Linked DNA regions of Homo sapiens: region 2 is linked to region 1. Evidence: promoter capture Hi-C in 16 types of primary human blood cells and fetal thymus (Javierre and others, 2016). All regions are on one chromosome and are shown on one strand. Each heading gives the region's core, a stretch centred on a gene start or on the middle of the fragment in contact. The rest is flanking DNA. Distances are from core to core; before and after follow the strand shown.

What was found. The method cuts DNA at HindIII sites, captures the fragments that hold promoters and counts their contacts. A CHiCAGO score of 5 or more calls a contact.
Region 2: a contact is called between the fragment with the promoter of CIMIP3 here and the fragment with the promoter of FRS3 in region 1, in 6 of 17 cell types (naive CD4 T cells, total CD8 T cells, naive CD8 T cells and 3 more). The highest score is 8.8, in naive CD4 T cells.

The regions. Positions count from the first base shown.
Region 1 is chr6:41,778,596-41,781,176 of GRCh38, reverse strand. FRS3 (fibroblast growth factor receptor substrate 3) reads left to right here and starts at 1,277. Exons shown (of 7, transcript NM_006653.5): 1 at 1,277-1,361. It overlaps PRICKLE4 (prickle planar cell polarity protein 4), which reads right to left and starts at 395. Exons shown (of 8, transcript NM_013397.6): 1 at 351-395. RefSeq lists silencers at 612-681, 962-1,371, 1,402-1,551. The HindIII fragment of the contact is 6,259 bases long and covers 1-2,389 here.
Region 2 is chr6:42,154,131-42,156,711 of GRCh38, reverse strand. It overlaps CIMIP3 (ciliary microtubule inner protein 3), which reads right to left and starts at 1,306. Exons shown (of 2, transcript NM_001384994.1): 1 at 1,227-1,306. The coding sequence starts at 1,235. It overlaps GUCA1ANB-GUCA1A (GUCA1ANB-GUCA1A readthrough), which reads right to left and starts at 1,306. Exons shown (of 5, transcript NM_001319062.2): 1 at 1,119-1,306. The HindIII fragment of the contact is 11,083 bases long and covers 1-2,581 here.

The sequences.
Region 1 (2,581 bases), core at 28-2,527:
AGATAAGGGACAGAGCTGAACCCCTTGTCTTGCCTCCGTGCAGAGCCTCCGTGCAAGAGGGCTCAGGAGCTGGACATCCCCAACACCCGCTGCCCTGAAGGGCAGAGCCCGAGAGGACTTAGGGCTTGGGGAGGTGGAGGGATGGGAAGATTTCTGGGGACAGTGGGAGGGAGAAGGAAGGGGAGTGCCCAGTCCCGCCAACTGCCCTCTCGATAGATCCCCAGAGTTTTTCTGGAACTTGGCGGGCCCGCCTCCGGGGCTGGGACGCGGTGTTTCCCGAGTCCGCTGGGGTTCCCGGTCTGGCTGCTGGGATTTTAGGGGAGGGGACCAGGACTCCGCTGGGGTCTCACCCTCGCTGTGCGTCGCTGTCCGGGCAGTTCTGGACCGACTCTGCCGTCAGGCCCCTCACCCGGTCCCCACCCCAAGGCTTCAGCGCCCGCCCCCGTCCGCCCCCGCCCGCCCTAATAGCGCGGCCCTTCCTCTCCCACGCCCCAGCGGCCCCCGCCCGCCCCTCCCCGGCTGGTGGAGAGGGGCGGCTCAGGGAGGGGCCTGGAGCTGCAGATTGGGGGGAGGAAAAAAAAAAGGAAAACAAAACCACATTTATGGGATCTCAGGGTGGAAATGTGCGGGCTCCATGGCCTCTGCCATGCAGGTGCAAGGGCTCTCTGGCTCGGACTGCGCCCGGCAGGCATCCAGCAGACGCCGGGAGCCGCGTTTACGCTGGGTTTTCAACCATTCGCTGAATGGAAACGCCTCGCCGGGCCCGCAGCCCTGTCTCTCCGCAGTTCCCAGGTCTCCCCAAACTCTCCCTGTGGTCTCCCAGCCCCGCTCCTCCGCGTGTTTCCCTTCAGTTCTCTCCCCCTTGTCCCCAGTGGTCCCCCTGGCCCCTTCCCCTCCCCTCAACCCTCTTCCAGGTTCCATCGTCTTGCCCTTCTCCTTTCAGGTCCCTTCAGACCCTCTCCCCTTCCCTTCGTTTCTCGCCCAACCCTCCGTCCCCTTTCCGCTCCCCGGACCACCCCCAACTTTGGTGTCCTCAGCCCCGCCTCCGCGCCCCGCCTCCGCCGCAGGCTCCGCCCTGTCCCCTCCGGGCTTGCTCAGCCCCTGGCCAGGAGCGCCCTCTGGCGTCTGCGCATGCTCACTGCTCCCGACTGCAAAGTCCTCCAAAGGGACCTTCTAGGCTGCGTGCCGGTCGCCCCCGCTCGGGTCCGCCAGCCCGCAGCGTCTCGTTGGTGCTGCCGGTGACCTCCGACCCCGCGGCCGCGGGGCGGGGCGGGGCGGGGAGGCCTTAGCTCCGGGCGGGCGGCGGCTGCTGCAGCGGGACCCGGGAGCGGGGCCCGGCGCCGCCCGGGCCGCGGGGCGATGTGAGTCGGGGCGCGGCGGGGCGGGGACGAGGCGGCTTCACCGAGGCCGCGCCGCGCCGCGCCGCGCCGCGCCGCAGTCTCCACTCCCTCCCTAGGAAGCCCCGGGCGGGCGGGCAGGCGGCGGAGCACCGGGGCTGGGGGCGGGGATCCGGGGACAGCGCGCACCCAGACCTCCTCATTCCTTACGGGCATGTAGAAATTCCCCTTGACAGTCCTGTAGCCTGTCCTGCAGCCTCTGGCTCCCCCAACCCACCTCTACCCTCTCCGCCCTGGACACATCATCGCATCTCCTGGAGCCCTCAGAACCCCCTCATTCACTCAACAAATCTCCTGCTATGCCCACGGACCCACCATTTCTCTTGGATGCCCCCAAATGCTTCCACTGCCCGGAAATTCCTAGGATCCCTCATATCCCCATTCTCCTTGCACTATCCAAAATGCCCACATCCAAAATTCTTGCTCATGTTTCCCCAAACGTCCTCATACGTTTTCAGCCCCCACACCCCCCTCTCACTCCTGCCCCTGATCCATACCTATCCCAGACCAGAGGCCTCTCCCCATTTCCACTCAATGCAGTCCCTCCTCAGTGGGCTATCTGATACATCCTGATATCTTAAGGAGAAGAGATGGTGATAGGGAAATTCAGCCCCTCCCCCATCTTGCACCCTAGAGTTCTTCGTTTCAGTGCCCGCGCCGTGCCCCCGTCGGTGGCTCAAGCCCCAGTATTTTCCCAGCAACCTATCTTTAGTCTGTGCACACCTCCCTGAGCCTGCTTCTTCCTTCCAGAAAATAAGCCAGACCAAGGGGATGGGGTCCTTTTACCTGGAAGTTGTCCAAGGATGCAGGGTGCAAGGGGCCCTGGGAAGTGTTTCTCCAGAGCAGGAATGTGGGATGTCCAGGGTCTGCAGAGTCCTGGCTTGTTGACTTGTCTACCTTGGGCTCAGATATCCTGAAATTTTGGCTTACTGTTAACATTTATGTTAAAATTAGGCCTTTCAGAGCTTGGGGAGCAGAAAATCTATCAAGCTTCCAAATGCGAAATTGAAGCAGCCTGTCTTGGAAGATGAACATGTCAATTTTAGTGAAGTTTGTCTTACGTTTTTACCTCTGCAAGTTATTTAAGCTAGAAGCTCCCCAGTTTATAGATGGTTCCCCCAAAAACTAAGGCCTTAGGTGGGAGTTGGGGGGGGCGTTGACTTAAGTCTCCCAGATACTTAGTA
Region 2 (2,581 bases), core at 57-2,556, 380 kb before region 1:
CCAGCTTGTGGTGGGGTGCCATGAGTGCTGGGAACGGTAAAGGCACAGTGCAAATAGTCATTACTCTCAGCCTCTCGGGCAGTTACACCGTGGTTTCACACACATACCTGTCTGAACCTATAGGAGAGCACGTTTCCCTTTGGGGGAGCACAGGGGCTTTGAAGGGAGTGGTTAGGGAAGCCGGGGGTAGGCCTCAGCTTCCTCATGTGACTGGGTAGCATGAGAGCCTGGAGCCAGCTACCCCAGTTCAAATTCCAGTTCCCTGCAGGGCCCGGTGGCTCACACCTGTAATTCAGCGGGAGGTTGAAGTGGGAGGATTGCTTGAGCTCAAAAGTTCAAGACCAGCCTGGGCAACATTGAGAGACCTCATCTCTATTTTATAAAAAAGTAAAAAAAAAAAAAAAAGAAAAAAAAATGGCTGAGCACAGTGGCTCACGCCTGTAATCCCAGCACTTTGGGAGGCCGAGGCAGGAGAATCACTTGAGGTCAGGAGTTCGGGACCAGCCTGGTCAACATGGTGAAACCCCGTCTCTACTAAAAATACAAAAAAATTAGCCGGGCGTGGTGGCAGGTGCCTGTAATCCCAGCCACTTGGGAGGCTGAGGTGGGGGAATCATTTGAACACAGGAGGCGGAGGTTGCACTTAGCTGAGATTGTGCCACTGCACTCCAGCCTGGGCAACAAAGCGAGTCTCAAAAAAAAAATAAATAGAATTCCAGCCCTCTCACTCACTAGCTGCCTGATCCTTAGGCAAATTATAATCTCTGTACCTCAATTTTCCGAAGTATAATGTGGGAATAACAAGAGCTCTACCTCATAGGGTTCATGTGAGGACTTAATGAGCTAGTCCATGTAAGGTGCCTAGACCTCTTAAGCACTCAAACTTTAGCTACAATTATTATTTATCTCAAGTTTGCCTTGGAGATGGTGTAACACGAACCAAACAGTCCAGGACACACTTTACAGCAGTGAAGGGGCAGAGGAAGCAAGATGGAGGGTGTCCTGTTCCCTCTCTCCATCTCCCCAGAGAGATCGCAGAGGTCCGACAGCTGGGGAGTACAAGGCAGGCAGCAGCACCAGCACCAGCACCCAACTAAGCCTTTTGTAAGAGGACCTACCTCCCAGCCGCACATGTGAGGCTGGCTGGGGCTTTCATGCTCTTTCCTGCCCATCAGGCTTCTTGTGACCCCGAGCTGACCTTCCCCAGCCCTGTGATTTCATCACACCTTGCACATCCTGGACCAGGGCCTTTCTTGATGGTGAGGTGGAACTTCTGGTGGTCAGGGAGGACTCTTGGCAGGATACTGAGAGTGCCAAGGTGGGGAGAACTTGTATGGGGCAGGGGGCATTGTGACACCTCTTTACAACACAATTCCTTCTGTCTTCCCAAGGAGACATGAGGCCAGGGCTGGGGACTGACGTTTCAGGACCTGGAAGGGTCTTTTAACCTTGACACTGGCCCACTATGCTATTCCCTCTTCCCACAAACCCATAGAACCCTAAAACTGTGGGCAGGAGGTGAATGGAGAGAGATCATCCTAATTATCAAGGTGCCTCCAGAAGTCCTAATATCCCCCCATGTCCCAATATCACTGTCAGGAAGGAAATGTACCTTGGCAACTCTTCATTCTATCTATCTATCTAATCTATCTATTTATTTATCTATCTATTTATCTATCTATCTATCATCTATCATCTACCACCTGTCAATCATCTATTTATCATCTATCTATCATCTATCTGCCTTCCAAATTACAGAGATGAGTGGATGAATGGATGGGTGGACATGAGTGGGAGGGTGGATGGACAGGTGGATGGACTGGGTTGGCAGATAGATGGTGGATGGGCCAACCCTTGTGATTTGAGCCCTGCTCATCTCCTTAGCCTCATCTCTTGCTATCTTTCCCTTGCTCTCTATGGAGTAGCTAGTTTCTTAGACATGCCCCACTCTCTCCCCTCTGAGCCTCTACATATGCCATTCCTTCTCATGGATTGCTTTGAACAGAGGGTTGGGAGATAAAGGGATGGATGAACAGGTGGATAGACAGATGGCTGAATAGGAGTGACCATGTGTGAGTGGATGGATGGATGGTCAGTAAATGGACAGATGGTGATGGCTGTGGTATAGAGGATTGCAGGTCTGGGAGTTAGAATGCCTGAGCTTGAATTCTGGCTGTACTACTTTACTAGTGTGTAACTTTGGGAAAATTAATTGACATCTCTATGCTTCTGTTTTCTCATCTGTAAAATGGGTAAAGTCCCTACCTAATAGAGTTGGGCAAAGCACTTAGGACAGTGCCTGGTACAGAGTAAGCATTGAGTAAACATCAGCTATGACTATGTGTGGGTGGGTAATTGGATTGATGGGTGGGTGGTTGAATGGGCTGTCCTGTCCCCATCTTCAAAAATCAGCTCCCCTACCTCCCTAGGGTCCTGTCTCCCCAATACCACACTTGGTAGGCAGCTTCCAGGAGTAATGTCAGAAATCCCACATGTAGGAATGACATGGGCTTCTCCCTTGGTTGAGGGGAAGGAGAGAGTTCCAGCGGGAGGTAGATAGAGCTATTGGGTGCCTTCCTGC